3 separate regions of the Homo sapiens genome follow, and all the other regions are linked to region 2. The links are contacts of gene promoters, found by promoter capture Hi-C in human tissues and cell types (Jung and others, 2019). All regions are on one chromosome and are shown on one strand. Each heading gives the region's core, a stretch centred on a gene start or on the middle of the fragment in contact. The rest is flanking DNA. Distances are from core to core; before and after follow the strand shown.

Region 1 (3,517 bases), core at 41-2,540, 800 kb before region 2:
CCTTTCTGCATTTCCTCCCGAGAGCACGATAATAACTCACTGCTTGACCAACTTCAGACAGACTCCTCCGGCACTTTTTTCAGCTAGGCCTCATCCTTGGACCCCGTGCTCAGCCTGCCTGAGCCAGTCTTAGCAAAGAATCCTGTTAAGTCCTCTTCTGCCTTTAGTATCCAATCATCCTGGCCTGCCTGCAGCAGGTGTCCTGTTAAGTTAGTTTAGCAAGATACCCCCCTACCGTCAAGGTCCCCTCTGTTTTCCATCTGCCAACCCCCCACCTCCACCCTGTTCCTGGGCTGTAAATCCCCACTTGTCCTTGTGTTGGGAATTGTGCTCGGCGCTTTCCTTTTGCAGTAGTGCTCAACAGAGTCTGTCTTTTTGCCTTGGATAGTGTTCAGTTCTATTTCTCATTAACAGTTATGAAGGGCTGTGACACCTTGCTTGGCTTCTAGTCTTGACATAGACTAAAAGGCAGAAGGTTTCCAGAGCTCACGCTGGATGGCTGGGCAGATGAGGTCTTCAGAGACTCTCCAGGGAGGTACGGCTCTGCCTTTCTACTCAGTATGCAAGCTCCCCAGACTTCTGAAGAGGGATGTTTCTCCTTAGAGAAAGTCTCCCTGAATGTGGGTATTTCATAAGTTCTTGGACCAGTTCTGCTCTTCTCAGTCCTGCTTTTTGTCAACATACATTGAATCACTTCTCCCTGGCAAAAGAGCAGCATGTGAAGAAAATGTGATCCTTGGTGGTTTGACATGAAATTGACTTTTTCTTCTAGCAACACTTATGAATATTCAAATACAATTATGGAAAAGATTTTTTGCACTGATCAGCATAACAAACAAATTAGACATCCCAGTGTGCAAATATAACTTTCTGAATTTCCTAGTTTTAAATATTCCAGTGGCCAGGATACCCTATCCAGAGGAAGCAGGACCGTCTCAGCTGACCAGGGCCCTTGCCTGCTAATAGCATCATGCATACCTTGTTTCTTCATGAGGCTGCTTGCCCGAGTTCCAATCCACCAGGAATTCATCTTGTATCATAGCTGATGGATCCCGTGTCTCGTTTCTAAGTTGGAGCATCACTTTGCAGCTCCCAACCAGGGCCAGCCACAAAATTTGAAAGGCCCAGTGCAAAATAAAAATGCAGAGCCCCTTGTTCAAAAAGCAGGAAAAGAATGGGCCAGCAAAGGAACTAAAATAAACGAAAGCTTTTCCCTTTCTTCCATGGTCTCTCTTTTGACCTATCATGGTGTTTTTATTTGCTACTGAATATCATGCTTTCTTGGGACAGGGTGAGTGTCAACTGTCACACTTGCCCAGGGGCCCTGCCGAGTGACTTGGTGGGTACACAGTCCACCAGCTGCTTGCATGGCCACGCCCACCCTGAGATGCCACGGGTAGTGTAGTAAAAGCATCTGATGTCAACCCCACACCCCTCCACACATACACACTCAGGTTCCCGCAGACCATGGAGGGCACCAGCGGTTGCTGGGTGAGGGTGGGGATGGGGAGGCCATGTGGGGCCCAGGACACCAAAGGGAGGGAGACGAGCAGTCAATAATGTGCCTGGGAGAGGTGGCGGACCAGCAGCAGATGGGAGCACACATGAGGCAGGCTCCAAGTGCTCACGTATGCTCCACTGTCCAATGAGGCCTCACTTACACCACACAAATTCAAAGATAAAATAAAGTTTTTTTTGTTTTGTTTTGTTTTGTTTTGTTTTGGAGACAAGAGTCTCACTCTGTCACCCAGGCTAGAGTGCAGTGGCGCAATCTTGGCTCACTGCAACTTCCACCTTCCAGGTTCAAGTGATTCTCCTGCCTCAGCCTCCCAAACAGCTGGGGCTACAGGTGTCCACCACCACACCTGGCTAATTTTTTGTATTTTTAGTAGAGATGGGGTTTCTCCATGCTGGCCAGGCTGGTCTCAAACTCCTGACCTCAAGTGATCCGCCCCCCTCGGCCTCCTAAAGTGCTGGGATTAGAGGCATGAGCCACCGTGCCCAGCCTGATAAAATAATTAAGAATGTCAAGACAGCAATCACAGAGCACTAAACCCCAAGTGCAGGGCCCTGTGCCTCTGAGGGGCTGCATGGCCACGAAGCCACCCTGCTCCAGCATTGGCAGCAGGAAATACAATCCATTCCTGGATGGAGGTTGGGTTAGTTCCTCAGGGCTGCTGTAACAAAGACAACCTGGGTGGCTCCAAACAACAGAAATGGGCTATCTCATAGTTCCAGAGGCCAGAAGTCTGACATCAGCGTGGTGCAGGGCCGTGCTCCCTCTGAAACCTTAGGAAGTCCTTGCTTGCCTCTTCCTGGCTTCTGGTGGCTGCAGCAATCTTTGGAGTTCCTTGGCTTGTGGCTGTGTCACTCCAATCCTAGGTCTTCACCGGTCTCCTTTTTATAAGAACACAGTCACATTGGGTCAGCGGCCCACCCTGCTCCAATGTGACCTAACTTTAACTATTACATCTGCAAGGATCCTGTTTCCAAATAAGGTCACATTTTGAGGTCCTGAGAGTTAGGACTTCAGAATGGCTCATCTTTGTGGGGGATGCACAACCCATAATAGAGGTGTGGAGGAAGGAGAGTTTCTTCAAGGGGCAGGACTGGGAAAGACTTTGTAAGGAGGCTGGTCCTTGAAAGAGGTGGCAGGAGCGGGGCCACAGCAGGTTGGGAGAGGGAAGAGTGAGCTTCTCAGTTGGGCCACCATGAGGGTGGCTGTCACTGGGTGCAGACAGCCGACCCCACTGTCAAGTTCTAGGGCTGGGCACACTGTTGCCCAGGAAGCAGGAGCTGGTCAAACCCCTATGGGGGTTTCCTAGGAGATAAACCCCACGGCCCAGGTAGGGCACGACAGAACAGACTGTATGGGGACAAGAGGTTCAATTGGCAGGACTCTTGGTAACACAAGGAAGGGTGGAAATGCAGAGGGAACAAGCCATGACTGTCTGCTCTGCAAACATAACTTGTCACATTAAAATCACCCACTCTCTGCCTGGGCGCGGTGGCTCATGCCTATAATCCCAGCACTTTGGGAGGCCAAGGCAGGTGGATCACAAGGTCAGGAGATTGAGACCATCCTGGCCAACATGGTGAAACCTCGTCTCTACTAAAAATACAAAAATTAGCTGGGCATGGTGGTGTGCACCTGCAATCCCAGCTACTTGGGAGGCTGAGGCAGAAGAATCGCTTGAACCCGGGAGGCAGAGGTTGCAGTGAGCCAAGATTGCACTACTGCATTCTAGCCTGGTGACAGAGCAAGACTCCATCGCAAAAAAAAAAAAAAAGAGGCACCTGAAAGATGCTTCGCTATGACATAGAACACATTTCTATAGCTTGTATTTTTGAAAACATGTTTACCAGATGCCCAGGGCTTTTGTTTTTGGTGTTCTGTTTTGTTCTGCTTTTCCAGCATTTTTCCAGCAGCATCCTACAGATATTTCCAACAGTCACCGTCACTTCATCACACTCCCCAAAACTAACCACGCCAGCTACTCCTAATGATGACAGCAGC
Region 2 (3,168 bases), core at 423-2,922:
TACTCTCTGACTAAAACTTCTCAACAGCCAGGACTATTCTTTCTGGGGAAGTTTCACTAACCATGCCGTATAATCTGTTGTGCATCGCCTTCCACTTGGTCCACTGTGCCTCTAAACTGTGATCAAATGTTAGAGTAGCTGAGGCAATTCCCAGGCAAAAGGCAGCAAGGATGAGTGTAGGATTCATGTTTTAAAACCTAGGAAGGGAACAAAAATGAGGATCTGATTAGACCAATCCTAAAAAGCCATCTTACTGCCCCCTGAAAAATTAGGGCCACCATGGTAGAATAAAAATATTTAAATTATTCTCCCAAGCATTTACCCAAGGACTGTGGAAGAGGCCAAGGATGTGCCTGGAGAAAAACAGGGCACGTGGAGGTACTGGATGGACTCACCAAAATGAAAAGCAGCCTGTCCAGAGCTGTAGGAGCTGAAACAGTTTATGCGATGACAATTTAGGTTATGAGAACGGTATGAAACTACCTTGTGTGTGAGAAGCTTAAGGCAACAACTAGGAAACCGGGAAACGGTTGATCCAGGTTTTGTACCAATCGCAAAAAATCCAGGTTTCGTGCCCAGGCAAAACCTCACTAATGATAAGGTGGGATTCCCAAGTAGGGACAAAGAGATCCCCAAGAGTTAGGAGGCCTTCACACATCTTCCTGACTAACAAACACCAAAAGCTGAGATAAGTTTTCCAATCTCTCCTATTTATTTATTTATTTATTTATTTATTTATTTATTTATTTTTTGAGATGGAGTCTTGCTCTGTGGCCCAGGCTGGAGTTCAACGGCGCGATATCGGCTCACAGCAACCTCTGCCTCCCGGGTTCAAGCCATTCTTCCTCAGCCTCTTGAATAGCTGGAACTACAGGCGTGCGCCGCCTCGCCCGTCTAATTTTGTATTTTCAGTAGAGACGGGGTTTCACCATGTTGGCCAGGCTGGTCTCGAACTACTGACCTCAGGTGATCCGCCCACCTCAGCCTCCCAAAGTGCTGGGATTACAGGAGTGAGCCACCGCGCCGCCCCAACCTCTCCTTAAATGAAACCTTTCTGAAATGCTTTCCCAGGAAAAACTGGGAAGGAGAGCACGCACTGCTCCCTCCTTCATTCACTTGGGCCTGTGCTGCCGACACCCCAAACTGCTCCCCTAAATCAGGGACGGGGTCATATGGCCGCACGCGGGAAGCCAGCGCCCTGCAGCCAGCTTCCAGGGCTCCAGGCGTGGCAGGGCCGGGGACATGACGCCTGCGCCACACACTGGCTGTAGCGGTCAGAGGATGTTTGCGGTGACGCCAGCAGGAGTACCGCTGTCTGGCGTGCGGGGACTGAGCTTCCCTGTCTGGCCGGGCCAGGCCCTGAGTCGGCGCGGCGCGGCCTGGCTGCGGTACCTGTGTCCACCCGGCTCGGAGGCTGGCCTGCCCGCTCAACCAGTCACGCGCCTCCGCGGGGTCCTCAACTGCCCTCCCCGGCTTCCCCACCTCAAGGCCAGCAGAGTTCGGGGTAGACGCTCTCGTTGCCAGGGCTGGTGCACACCTACTCGACCGCGTCCTCTCTTCCAGTCCCTGTCCGGCCACAGCTGGGCCTGGCCGGCGGCGCTTTCCTGCTGCGGTCGTAGCTGCGCAGGCGCACTCCACGGATGCCGCTCAAGGTTGCGGAGGTCGCGGTTCTGGCCCAGCTTCGCCTGACTCTGCTTCTAAAACCTCGGGTCTGGGTTCGGCCGGCACCGCCCCGCCGCCTGGCTGCGCTGCGATTGGCTGTGCCGGCAGCTGGGCGGGGACTCTGGGTGCTCTGATCCCTGGCGCGGTTCGTGGCTTGTTTACTGACTGTCCCAGAGCTGGGCGTGCCTGCCTCAGTGGACCTGGAGGAAGCAGAGCTGGTGCCCCGGGGCGGCGCAGAGTAGGGTCGGGCGTCTCCCTGGAGCGCTCGAGTCAACTAAGTACACGACTTACTGCACTGGGCGAGTGGCTCCTGAAAAGACGTTTACCGCAAGCCCTGTGTGGACTGTTTCAGCCTAACCTTGCTATTCCTTAGTCCTGGAATTTTTGGTCCGCAGAGCCGAGAGTCAAGTGTACTCTAGTCCAGTGGCTCCTGTTTAGTCCACAGCAAACGTGGGGCCGGGTGGACGAACGCAGAGCCCGCGGGCAGAAGCCTTATCTCCCACTTAAGGGTGGGTGCAGCTGGGCTTTAGAAGAATCTGGTAAGGAAAGGCATCCCCAAAACACGAGATGCTATCGTCAAGACCAGACCCTAGGAGGGAGGAGACTGGCTGCGTCTCCAGAGAGCGCGGGCGTTTTGTCAAGCATCCTTTCCAGACTCCTCCATTCAGGGATTCTTCCTTCTCCCACGTCTTACCCAAAACCAACAGAAATGAGTTATTTACAGAAACATTTGGTTGACAGGAGAAAAGCAGTTGAGAACATTAGAAGCTGCTTTTATTCGCCCACTCTCTAGGCTATGGATTATATCTTCCTTGGTAACCAAGTCGTTCTCTTGAGATTTAAGAAATTTAATGACATTTAATGTCAGGATTTAAGATACAGAGAATGGAGAAATGTTGTAGATAGAGGAAAAATATGTATCTTAATCTGTATAATGTAGATATTAATTTATGTAATTAAGGATTTAAGGAACAAAACCCACAAACATTCTAAACTTTTGTCATTTCATTTTTTATTACATAAAAACATTCATTGTAGAAAATACCTTTCGGGGAAAAAAATAATTACCTCTGCCTTTACCCCATAACCTTTTCGTATGCATATTTTGACTTTGTTAAAAATGAACAAAGTCCATTGATTTCTATTGAAGATTAAACTGATAACTCTTTTAGAAGCACAATCACCTATAGTTTTTTAAGTGGTAAAATATACCTCACATAGCAAGTACCATTTTAACCAACTTTGAGTTCAGTAGCATTAAGTACCTTCACATTGTGTAACCATTACTACTGTTTATTCCCAGAGCTTGTTTATCTTCCTAAACTGAAACTGTATCCATTGAATAATAGTTCCCCATTCCCCCTCTCCTAGCTCAGGTATCTACCATTATATTTCCTGTCTGCAGGAATTTGTTTACTATTTTGGAGATTATTCCTCTTTTTTTTTTTTTGAGACGGAGTCTGGCTCTGTTGTTCAGGCTGGAGTGCAGTGGCGCAATCGCAGCTC
Region 3 (3,293 bases), core at 276-2,775, 660 kb before region 2:
ACAATATTTTGGTGTTTGCCTTTTAACTAAAGCTGAGGGGGGAGAGTGGGGAGGTTGGAAGAAGCCTCATTTCACCTGCCCTTTCCAAAATTTCACTTCAAAAGAGTGTTAAAAAAAACTCAGTATATCCAGGTATAAATCTCCAAGTTTAATTTTCACTGCTTAACAAAAGCGATGTAGAAAGCAATTACTGTACCCTCCATTAATCCTTTCGGATTGCATGGAATTCCTTCCAGAAAATTCCAATAGAAAAAAAGTTAAGACAGGTAATCGCGTTTTGGTACGTGTGTCGTCTCTGGCACAAGTCATGTAGAGTGAAATCCTTTAAGACATTTAAATGTTCCTGGTATTGTTTTGTGATTAACGTGATAAAATTGCCAAACAATCCATATTTACCATGAGTGAAAACACTTCCACCACGTACGGAAAATCTCTCCAAAACACAAAATCTGATTCAAAAATTATAAGTAAAAAGAGAATAAATGTAAAAACAATTCCATAAACAAACTTTGAAATGCGTATACGATGACATTACTGAAGCCATTACTCAAAACGAACCTCTGTAAAATCGAGAACGCACAATCAATGCAATAAAATGCTCGAGAAAGCCAAACCCGAGGCGCTGCGCAGTTCCCGCATCGCACAATTCGTTTCAACACATTCCTTGACGAATACACCCAAGGTCACTCACGATGGAGAGGAAAAGTGCCTGTCTCTCTCCAGAGCACGCAACCCGTTCGCCGCGCCCCCACGGAGGGCGGCGAAGAGACGGCGCATCAGGAAAGGGGCTGCGCGGGCGCGAGGACTGGCCGGTGGGCGTTCCGGCGCCGCGAACCGCGGAGCCTGCAACTTACAAGGTCCGCGGCCATCCCCCGGGCCTGGGAGGGGTGGCCCCAGGGCAGGCCCGCGTCCCCGGGGTGACCCGACCCGTCGCGCCGGGGTCCCGCCCCTCCCCCCGCCCCGCCCCCGTCGCCGGCCCGGGATTATGCAACGTTCCCCCTCCCCGCCTGCATTCTGGCGCAGCGCCCCCTCCCCGCGCCCGACTGCGCAGCGCCGCCGCCCCCTGCCCGCCGGCCTCCCCGCCCGGCTCCAAACAAAGCGCGCGCTAAGGGGCCGGCGGCGGCCGGGGAACTGGGGACGAGAGGGTGGCGGCCATGTTGGCGGGGGGCGGCGGGGATGGGGGCACGGAGGAGTAGGGGCCGGCGAACAAAGGAGCGCGCGCCCGCCCCGAGGCCCAGGCCCGCCCAGCCCGGGTCCCCGCCGCGGCCCAGCCGGCAGGGGGCGCTATGCGGGCGCCGCCCGCTGGACAATGCTCCGCCGGGCCCCGCGCGGGCCGCGCTCACCTGCGCCCCCGGGCAGACCGCCGCACCGCTGGCCCGCCCGCAGCCCGCACTCCCTCACGACCCACGCCCGCCCTGCGCGGGCCTCACCTGCTGACCGCCGAGGCTGCAGTCCACAGGCCCACGGGTTCCGCCGTCGCTCGTTCGCGCTCCCGCCGGCCCCAGCCTGAGCCAGACGGCGCCTCCCCGCCCCCGCTCCCTCGCCGCGGACGCCGCCCGCCCCCCAACAGTCAGGGCGCACGCGCACTGCGCCCGCCGAACTGCGACGGCCGCGCCGCCCCGGCGCCTGGCGCCGACGGCCGACTGCGCAGGCGCAGTGGGGCGGGGCGGGGCCGGCGAGGGCGGGGCCTGGCCCCTCTCACCTGGCTGGCGGCAGGGCGGGGCTCGAGCCCGGGACTGCCAGGTGCGCGCCGGGAATGGGCGGCGGCAGGCGCGCGGGGCACAGGTTCCTGAGGGGGCGCAGCTTTTCCTGGAAGGCAGGCAGCCTGAGAAGGGCTTCGTTTTTGCGCAGTAGGACGTTGAAGAAAGGACAAGCCCCCTTTGTCCTGGACGTAAGCCGCAAGTCGTCCTGAGTGGTGCACACCGCGAAGACTGAGGAAACTGGATCACAGGGCTGGGCCGTGAGCCTTGAACCTCGGAGAACGTCGCATTACTGCTCCAGCGCGCCGGTTCAGGGCCGCGGGACGCGAGCCCTTTAAAAGGATGGATTTGCTTCCTGTGACTCCCTGGAAGAGACGTCTTCACCACCGCACTGCGTAGAGGCCGGCGTCGTCGCCGGCTCACCCCGCTTGCTGCCTCCCCGCACAAAGCCCAGCCCAGGTAGCTCAGGTTAGCTGGAGCCCCGGAGCCTCACCTACAAGTACCTGGCCTGTCCTAGGTTGTGTGGGGACGGGATGTGGCTTCTGCAAGCCCAGAAACCTGTTTCCACTCCCCCACCACAAATGGAACTCACCCAGCTCTACTCGCAAGGTTAGGAGCCAAAAATTCCCATGATCGCACGCGAATTCATTTGACTTCCGTTTCAGTTAAGATGCCTTTTCAGCATTTTGTTGCTTGTTTGCAGAAGGGAGAGAGGTAGGATCAAGAATAGTTTTTACTCCTGCAGAGTCGAGTGCGAGACTTGGAGGCTGAGTCCAGGCGCTCTCCCCTCCCCGCCAGTCCCGTGTCCTGGAGCAGGTCACTGACCTGGTTCCTCGAGTGCGACAGCGCAGCCTCATCGTAATAAACCGCCTCCCAAAGCGTTGTCAGATCAAATTCCAGAACATGTTACTGGAAAGCACCTTGAACACTCTAAACTGCAGCACAGTTATTAGTTAGCAATACTCTTTGGGGTTTCACTGGCACCTTTTCTAACAAATAAGATTGATAGATGCCTGCTCAAACAAATTGAAGTGCTTGTCTCAGATGACACACTTGGCAGGCATGGGACGTTCACAGGCCAACTAGAGAGCTAATTTCAAAACTGAGATATAAAAGTGTATCGCTGTACTTACAAGTTACCAAGTGTTGAGAAATTACTCACTTTCATTTGTGTGTTTAATGTCTTTTTTGTTTTTTTAGACGGAGTCTCACTCTGTTCCCCAGGCTGCAGTGCAGTGGCATGATCTCGGCCCACTGCAACCTCCGCTTCCTGGGTTCAAGCAATCCTCACATTTCAGCCTCCCGAGTAGCTGGGATTACAGGCGCGCACCACCATGTCCAGCTAATTTTTAAAAATATTTTTAGTAGAGACGGGGTTTCGCCATGTTGGCCAGGCCGGTCTCAAACTCCTGGCCTCCAGCAATCCGCTGGCCTCGGCCTCCTGAAGTGCTAGGATTACAGGCGTGAGCCACCGCGCCTGGCCTGTTTAATGTCTTGCAGTGGGGTCATCTCCGAAACAAAGAGGGATGGGAAGAAGGTAGGTGCCAAGAAGTCTGCTGGTTGGAAGATTTCATCTCATTGGCGAGATCCCTG

What was found. The method cuts DNA at HindIII sites, captures the fragments that hold promoters and counts their contacts. A contact is called where the count stands out against the background at its distance.
Region 1: a contact is called between a fragment that was not itself captured here and the fragment with the promoter of CTSL in region 2, in 1 of the 25 tissues and cell types used here (aorta).
Region 3: a contact is called between the fragment with the promoter of SPIN1 here and the fragment with the promoter of CTSL in region 2, in 1 of the 25 tissues and cell types used here (dorsolateral prefrontal cortex).

The regions. Positions count from the first base shown.
Region 1 is chr9:88,525,662-88,529,178 of GRCh38, reverse strand. LOC105376134 (a long non-coding RNA gene) reads left to right here. Exons shown (of 2, transcript XR_007061653.1): 2 at 415-1,219. Among named protein-coding and RNA genes, the nearest start is that of NXNL2, 7.8 kb to the left of the region's middle. The HindIII fragment of the contact is 4,513 bases long and covers 1-3,517 here.
Region 2 is chr9:87,724,623-87,727,790 of GRCh38, reverse strand. CTSL (cathepsin L) reads right to left here and starts at 1,672. Exons shown (of 8, transcript NM_001912.5): 1 at 1,393-1,672; 2 at 62-197. The coding sequence starts at 187. RefSeq lists promoters at 355-775, 355-1,394, 1,599-1,809, 1,648-1,829, 187-1,829 and 7 more, cis regulatory regions at 776-1,009, 1,010-1,155, 1,731-1,732, 1,755-1,758, 1,769-1,772 and 12 more and an enhancer at 1,360-1,881. The HindIII fragment of the contact is 7,957 bases long and covers 1-3,168 here.
Region 3 is chr9:88,386,676-88,389,968 of GRCh38, reverse strand. It overlaps SPIN1 (spindlin 1), which reads right to left and starts at 1,525. Exons shown (of 6, transcript NM_006717.3): 1 at 1,431-1,525. LOC124902204 (a long non-coding RNA gene) reads left to right here and starts at 770. Exons shown (of 2, transcript XR_007061652.1): 1 at 770-857; 2 at 1,852-3,293. RefSeq lists a silencer at 873-1,772 and an enhancer at 1,850-2,709. The HindIII fragment of the contact is 12,466 bases long and covers 1-3,293 here.